Regions from separate parts of the Homo sapiens genome. Here all the other regions are linked to region 2. The links are contacts of gene promoters, found by promoter capture Hi-C in human tissues and cell types (Jung and others, 2019). All regions are on one chromosome and are shown on one strand. Each heading gives the region's core, a stretch centred on a gene start or on the middle of the fragment in contact. The rest is flanking DNA. Distances are from core to core; before and after follow the strand shown.

The links. Contacts are between HindIII fragments. The study calls those that stand out against the background at their distance.
Region 1: a fragment that was not itself captured here is called in contact with the fragment with the promoter of SLC6A11 in region 2 in 1 of the 25 tissues and cell types used here (IMR-90 fibroblasts).
Region 3: a fragment that was not itself captured here is called in contact with the fragment with the promoter of SLC6A11 in region 2 in 1 of the 25 tissues and cell types used here (aorta).

Annotation. Positions count from the first base shown.
Region 1 is chr3:10,857,605-10,860,304 of GRCh38, reverse strand. The region is part of intron 5 of SLC6A11 (solute carrier family 6 member 11); the gene reads right to left. Among named protein-coding and RNA genes, the nearest start is that of SLC6A11, 43 kb to the right of the region's middle. The HindIII fragment of the contact is 3,362 bases long and covers 1-2,700 here.
Region 2 is chr3:10,814,796-10,817,495 of GRCh38, reverse strand. SLC6A11 (solute carrier family 6 member 11) reads right to left here and starts at 1,268. Exons shown (of 14, transcript NM_014229.3): 1 at 975-1,268. The coding sequence starts at 1,230. The HindIII fragment of the contact is 14,406 bases long and covers 1-2,700 here.
Region 3 is chr3:10,762,998-10,765,697 of GRCh38, reverse strand. It overlaps LINC00606 (long intergenic non-protein coding RNA 606), which reads left to right and starts at 1,489. Exons shown (of 3, transcript NR_152730.1): 1 at 1,489-1,637. The HindIII fragment of the contact is 6,271 bases long and covers 1-2,700 here.

The DNA of each region.
Region 1 (2,700 bases), core at 46-2,545, 43 kb before region 2:
ATGGAAGGGACCAAGGGCATAGCTGTTCCTGTTTCATCACTATAGCTGAGCTAAGGGTTTTGTTAGATAAAATATTTTAAATTAATTTAGTCAATTGCTGTGTGAGATTTAGAATGTCTTTTAAAAAGATTACACTATGTCTCTGTAGAAAGGCACAGAAATAGGGATAAATTTTGATACTGTAAAGAAAATAGAAATCATTGGTGAGATGATCACACTTCCATATTTTCTTGCAAAGAAACAGCCAATTACTTTATGGATCCAAGAACCCCAAGTAAATGAAGCTATGTTACATTCTGTTACCACAAACTGGTTGCCAAAAAATACCCCAGAAAACACACCTGAGGTCAGAAGAATCTGCCAATTCCTTTGGAAGAAACTTCAAAGCAACAGTAGAGTCTGGTGTGACTATTCCACGTGTCACACAGGAATAATGTTAAAGCAGTGGATAGTAGATTAATTGGAAGTGTTTATACTTCTGGTAAATGTTCTTAATTGAAAGCATTATGTACCTTCTGGTACATAAAATAATGATGTAACTTAGATTAGACAAAATATGGCATATTAGAGGTTTCTCATTTTGGGAAGACACAGGTCCCTTAAAAATAAGACGATATCTACAGACCCTCACCCTAGAAAAAAGTACATATCACACAATCTCAGAATTTTTATACAATTCCAAGGAGCTCATGGATACCTTGAAACATCCACAGGCTCCAGGAAAAGAAATCCTAACATACATGCTAACGATTCCACTGCACACATCTCTCACCTGAGCTCAGACATACCTGTCTGCTACCCAAATATCTCTACTTGCAGAGTCACAGACATTGCAGAGTCACAGACATTAATGGGTCTACTTGCAGAGTCACAGACATTAATGGGTCCTCAAAGAATGGTCTCCCTCAACTCCAGCCAAAACACTGCCTCCTACCATATTTCTCCATTTCGCCTACCAGCACCACTGAGCACTGGGCACTCAAGCCAGAAAGCTGGGCTTCATCTTGGGCTGCTGTGTCTCCTTTACCCTCTACATTGGGTCACAGAGGGCTGACTCATACTCTTGCTTATTTCACAAATTCTTCCTCTCTCTCCACCTCAAAGTTGTCACTATCTCCTACCCAAACTACTTAATGGCATGTGTTCTGGTCTCAGCCCCCTCCTATTCATTCCACATGCCACATTTTATGGTGGCCTTTTTATAAAGCTTGGTCATAGAATCCCCTGGCTTTAAGCCTTTTGGTGCCTCTCCATTGCTCTCAATTTCTTACTAGGCTTGTCTACAATCCCTTCATAAGCTGATCTCTACCTACCAATCCAGCCTGTTTCTCTTCATATACCCTCGAGGGCTGCCCATTCTGGGCATAAAGAACTTGTTCCATTCCTTTCCAGAGCCATGTTCTCTCTCTCTCTCTGGACAATCCCATATGCTGCACAGGACCAAGTCTTAGATATTTGCCTTTATGTCTCCTTGACTTACCAGAATACCTAAAACCCAGTAGGTGTTTAATAAGTGCATGTTGAATTAATTTGAAGGCACATAGCTCCGTAAAACAATAACTCAGTATTAAATGCCATAGTGAGACAGAAAAACAGAGGGGCTTCCAGTCCCAGCTCTGTGACCTTGAGCAGGTTACTGTACCTCGCTAAGCCTCAGTGTGCCCACCTATAAAGTGGAAACAAAAATACCTACTTCAAAGAATTATTGTGAAGATTAAATGACATAACATAAGTTAGTGATTGCAACAAGAGCAGTACATCCTCTAAGGGGCAACCTGGAGACATGTAGAGGCATTTCGAGTCATCATAAAGATGGAGGTGATGCATTTGATGGCAAATAACTAGAGATGCTGGGAATCCTACAGTGTGGGGGACCATCCTCACACAGCAAAAAAACTCTCCTGCTTCTCAAGATTTCTGCATGTTCCACTTCCTGTGGGGTGGGGAGGAGCTGTTTATAATTATTCGAGTGAGAAGCTAACTCTGTTTTACATATATCCTCGAAGATTTTTTTAACCTCATTTTAATATAGACTGAATTTTCCAGAAATGCAATTACCATGTAAATTGAGGAAAGGCTGTCTCTTTAATTCAGTACTTTACCAAGCATTGTTCATCATTTCAGAAAATCATGTCACTAATGGCTGTACTGTCCGTGGAATGTGAGTGATTGACACAACCACCCTTTTATTAGTCACTATTCCAGCTATTGCATTCGTGGTGATTCTATAATAACATATGTGGCTAGTTCTTATTTAAAAATGTAAAACATGGAGAAAAAGTATAGACAATATTCAGTGGTGCATCGGCTCTCCTGTCTCACATCCATATGTATTTCTTACAAGCTGGTGCCAGCACCTGACTACTTCATTATGTTTTCTTGTGTGCTCGAGCATTTACATATTGAAATACATGCTGTTTTATTTATAATTTGCTCTCTTTTTGCTTTTCCTTTATAATATAGCTAGGGCATCATATCAATTTTCTTGAACTTATCTGTGCAGGCAGATTATTTATGAGTTGCGTTTCAGGGTGACAAAAGCCATGTTACAAAATCCTTGTCACAAACAAGGGGTGCAGGGTCTGTGAGTGGCTTGTAAAAGCCCTGGCACCAAGGCTGGCATAGAGTAAGCATTTGTTTCCTGGGTGTTGGTACTATTATTATCAATATACTGAGCCAATCACAATTATGACACAACTT
Region 2 (2,700 bases), core at 19-2,518:
CCCTTGCCATGGACCCGCCCAGCTGTCCTGCCGATATGACAGGAGGGGGTCCTGAAGGCTGGAGCCCCTTCCCTGAGCTGGGAGAGTTACGGATTCGCTGCTGCATCTTTTGCCAAACTGACTTTGAGAGGCTGTCACCAGAAAGGACTCTCTCATCACTGTCCTTTCCCTCTCCCCTTCTACATCTCTATGCAGAGCATCAACATTAAACCAGTATTGCTGTTTGTCGTGGGTGACTCTCAGACCCGTAAAATAAACTGTTCGTTGTCAATTCTTCCACCAGAGGGGCCCCAAATATTGGCCCTAGAAATGGGCTTAAGAGCAGACGAAAGACTAGGCAGGAAACCATAGAGCAATGCCTCGCCTAAAAGTTCTCCCTGTTGTGAGTCCAGTCCCAGTTTAAAATAGGGCCTTTGACATCAGAATCTCATCTTTATTTTTGGTCGAGTGAGACTTCTCTGACCCTCAGTGTCCTCACCTGCAAAATGGGTAGACCCCTGCCTACGAAAGTGACTGAGAGGATGAGATGAGATGATATGGTCAAAGGTGCTCGGCACTTCAGTAAGCGCGCAAAAACTGAGACCACTTTGATCATCAGGAGTCCCTTCCCCACAGGCCGTTTTCCCAGTTAGGAAAGCTGAGGCTCCAAGGGGCCAAGTGCCCGAAACACCAGGGCGCCTACCCAAAGCAAGGGCTCCCTGGCCTCGGTCTGCATCTCATGCTGGGGACAGAACGCGGGCAAGTCCCCGCGCTGGCAGGTGGAACCCTCAGGTGCGAATTGGCACGTGCGCGTGCGCACTGGCACAGGTGGGCCGCGCTCCGGGGCGAGCTCACACGCGAGGTGCCTGGAGTCGAGGTTCTCCGCTCGGGTTCCGCTCCACGCAGGCGCGGGAGGGGGTCTCGCGCTCGCCCCTGGCTCCCCGCCCCCACCGGGCGGTTGGCGCCCCCTCCCCTTCTCCTCACTATCACCTCACCTCCTCCGTTCTTGTAGCACAGGTAGGGGAAGCGCCACACGTTGCCCAGCCCAATGATCTCCCCGGCCACGCTCAGCACGAACTCCACCTTGTTGTTCCAGTGGCCGCGCTCGTGGACCGCCTTGTCGCGCTTGACGCGCGGGTGGCGCGCGGGCGCCGCGCCCCCGCTGCTGCAGCCGCCACCCGGCGCCTCGGACTCCCGCGCCTCCTCAGCAGCCTTCCCATTGCCCAGGGGCAGCGCCTTCTCCGCCGTCATGGCCGCGCTGGCTGCCTCGTGCGCCGGCCCGGCTCTGCGCCGCCGCCCCGGGCGAGCTGGCTTTTCAGGAGGCGCGAGCGGGCGGGAGGGGGAGGCAGGGGGTGGAGCTGAGGGACCGGGCCAGACCAGCGCGGAGACTGGGACTGGGACGCGCCGCGGAGGCCCGGCCCGCAGGGCGCCCACGCCACCTCAGCCCGGCTGGGCCCGGGAGCCCGCGAGCACCTTGAGCGCGCGGAGCCCCTGCAGCGCCCGTCCTTCCCGCGGCCCTGCCCACTGGCCTGCTGGGCCAAGAGTGGAAGCGCCCATTCCGGCCTAGGCCGGCTCCACTCACCAAACCCCAAAGTTCTACCACCGTCCATAACCTTCAAATGCTTGGGCCTCGGTTTCCTGTTTCTAATAAGAGGAATGGGCTCTAGACCAGACTTCTCCAACTTGAACTACACACCAGACACCTGCGGGTCTTGTTTAAACTACACATCACGGTCTAGTAGGTCGCAGTAGGCTGAAGAGCCTGCGTGTCTGACTACCTCCCCAGGGACGCTGATATGTCTGGTCCAGGGACCACACCTTGAGGAAAAGGCAGTAAATGAATTCGTGGCTTCTTCCCAGCCCTAGACACTCTGCAGGTCTTGTTCATACTGGTGTCCGCAGCTCTCAACATAGTCAGGACCGTGTGGCAGTTAAGTGCTTGCGTCTGGAAACAGGTGAATCTAAGTTGTGTGATTTTGGCCAGTCATCTGATCCCTCTGTGCCTCAGTTTCCTGATCTGCAAAAGGTAATATCAGTAGTATCTTGTAAGTTTTAATGTAGGGGATGGATTTTTAGGTAAAAGGTTATTAAGAAATGCTTATAAAGGTCTTGATACCTTGAAAGTGCCCAATGAACATTACCCATTGTTAGTATTATACAATATGTAGACCTACACACATTTGTCCATCTTCTTGTATAATATTTGTCTCCTCACTTAGTTGTAAGGATGATATACACTGTCCTGTTCATTATAATAGCAACATAACCTAGCACAAGACTTGGTGCATAGTATGTGCTCAATAAATGTTTGTGGCTAGAGAGGAAGGGAGGAAGGTAGGAAGAGGAAAAGGGGAAGAAGGAAAGACTATTAAGCTGCTGGGGGCCACAGAGATGAACACTTCCACCTCTTCCATTGCACAGGCCTGGAAAAGTCCAGCCACATTGAGCCCCCACCAACCCTACTCTCCATCTGTCCCTCGGAGCTCCCTCTGGAGCTCTCTTAGGGACAGGCTCCTTGCTTTGAAGCCTTCAAACTCCTGCCTTCCGCTTCTCCTTTCATTCTGGCTCACAACTGCTCAAGTCGCTCCCAACCTCCATCTCCCCAGAAAGCCCTTCCTTCCACCATCTTCCCGTTTCCCCTCCCCCCACTATCATATTTCTTGAAAGAGTAAGTTGACAGGCTGCCAGCCCTGTCTTTACCTCCCACACGTTCCTTGGCCC
Region 3 (2,700 bases), core at 69-2,568, 52 kb after region 2:
GGGAGAGTAGACACAAAATTCAGCACAGTGGTTACCTCTCTGGGGTGCGGGGGGAGGGGCTGGCAGGGGCAGTCTTGGGGTTGGTCTATTTTCTCAGCTGGGAGGTGGGTTCAGGGATATGTATTTCATGATTCTTTATGCCTTTCATGTACATTTTATATTCCTCTTTGGAATGCATGACATAGACTCCATAATAAATTATTGTAAAATTATCTGGGGACCAGATAAAACCTATTTGCTGGCCGCATCTAGTCCCTAGGCCACCTGTTTCTGACACCTCCCTTACAGATAACAAAACTTGGACTCTGAGGGCTTTCAGCCACGATATATTGCTTCGTTTTACATTTTTACAAATTGGGAAATTTCACATCAAAATAGAAATGTTCAACTCCCTTGAAAGACAATCAGAAGATCAGACAGGGCTGGACCCACGTTTCTACAGGATAACAGCTGCCAAAGCTGCGTTGCTGGGGATTTGCTAGGTGGGGCGGAGTGCCTTCTGCTCCAACCCCAGAGCAGCATCCGTCCTTCCTGTGACCTTTCTGTCCTCCCCTATAGACGTCTGAGCCGAGCTCACAAATGGGAGAACCTCTCCAATGGTTCACCCATGCAATGCCCTCGGTGGAGAGCCCAGCACAGGCCCAGTGCTAAATAAGGCCACTCCTTGTCATTGTGGTTAGAGAAGATAACTCCAACACTCGAGGGGGCAGCCGGGCTTAGTGTCCTTGTCCTGAGCCTGCTGAGGTGCTGTGATGAGGCCAAGGTCACCGTCTGGACAGCAGTGCCATCAGGACTCCACCCAGTCCCTGGGGCGTATCTGCAGGTACATTGGGCCTCAACTCCAGGGAGCAGGGGCCAGGCCGAGCTCCCCAAGGCCTTGGGTGCCCCAGCCCAGGCCAGCTGCTCTGACAGAGCCCACACTTTGTAGCCAGAGGCGAGGCAGGGGCAGTGGGGGAGACCTGCCAGACAGGTGGCATCTCAGGCCTCCGGGATGAGTGGGACAAAGGGATGCGCTTGAGTTCCGCCTCCCAGAGCAGCTCCTCCCCTGGCCGGGGAACGGAGGTGGACTTCGGGGCCTGAGAATCCTTGCCAGCGGATGGAGGCTTTGTTTGCCTCGCTGAGTCCCCAGACCAGGGGCCGGCCGGAGAGAGGGCTCTTTCCTGAGAGGCTGGACTTTCCCACAGGAACAAAGTGGGGCTTGTTAGCCGGGCATGAATCTTGGCGTGAAGCGGCCCAGGCCAGGCTCGGCGCTGCCAGGCGGCGGCTCCGCGATATCAGGCAAATTCCGCCTTCCCCACAGCTGGGGCTGACAGCAGGAAGCCCCAGGGAGGCTCCGGACAAAAGCAGAAAAATGGGCCACGTTTATTCATTCACTGACCAGCCCGGGCCTGGCTGGCCCGGGGGCCCTGTCTCCATGGCTACGGGCGGCCTTCAGCTCTCCTGGTTGGCTCCTCTGTGACCACAGCCCCTCCACTGCCACACACCCCAACACATAGAGACACAGCATCATGAAGGCAGAGGCTGCCTCGGGACGGCTCTGCCCCAGGGAGCGTGGGGCCATCTGAGCCAAACAGAATAGAGGGCTTGGACACAGCCCCGGATGTGAGTTGAGCTCTGAATGTCAAGACCAGTCCTGGGTGAGTGAGGGGAAGGCAACAGGTTCAAATCCACACATCAGCTAAGCACCTACTGTGTGCGGGGCAGGGGTGCGTCCGTCATGCCAACTCGGTTTGTTCTCACTCCTCTGGTTCGAAAATAGAGGCTGGGGAGCCCATTGAGGGAGGCACACCCTTTGCCTTGGGAAGGTATCAGGCAGGAACTGTCATCGGCATTGAGTCTTGAAGGATGCATAGAAGTTTGCCAAGCAGGGAGGCAAAGGTCATTCCCGGCAGAAGGAATGGCTTGAGCACAGGCTCCGAGGCCTGCAAGTAATGTGTAGTGTGATTAGGGTAACTGAAAGGCTCTCTGAACTGGAGTGGAGGGAAGAGGACGCAGCTGAAAATGAGGCAGTTGTGGGGGTGGGACGACCGTGCAGTGTGACTCAGAGAACCGGGGCCATCTGCTCCCCTGTCACTGTCCTGTTAGAAAAGACCCCCAGTAATTCTGTGAGTTGTGAATTTCAGAGAGGACAGAGGTTAACGTACAGCTAATACTTTGCAGTTTACAGAGAACTTTCATATATTCACGTGATCTTATTTAGACCTATGACCACCCAGCTGGGAGGGAGCTGACAGATAAGGAAACTGAGGCCCAGAGTGGTGCTGGAGGTCTCTGAGCCAGGAAGTGGCCCGTCGGGACTGGAATGCAGGGCCCTGAGCCTGACAGCACTCTCCGGGAAGGGGCTAGAGCCCCGAGGGATGAGCGAAATGATCATGATCATCTTTGTCCCATGCTTGCAAGTTCTAGAACTGCTACAAAGGAGCAGCCACGAGTGTCCCCCGCTCCCAGACCACTCCAAGCTGCTTCTAGAGGGACTGGACATCCTGGAGCAGAAACAGGTCTAAATCCCAGGCAACTTAGAATCAGGGATATGATGAATGGGTCAGAGCCTGGGAGCAGGCACAAGAGAGGCTGTCAATGTCTGATGGCCCGGACCACCCTTCCTGTCTTTCACGGGCCCACTCTGCTTCTCTGGCCCTGGGTCTCCCAGATGGAGCCAATGGGCTGGGCCTGCAAGAACGACCTTGGGACCCAAAGGCT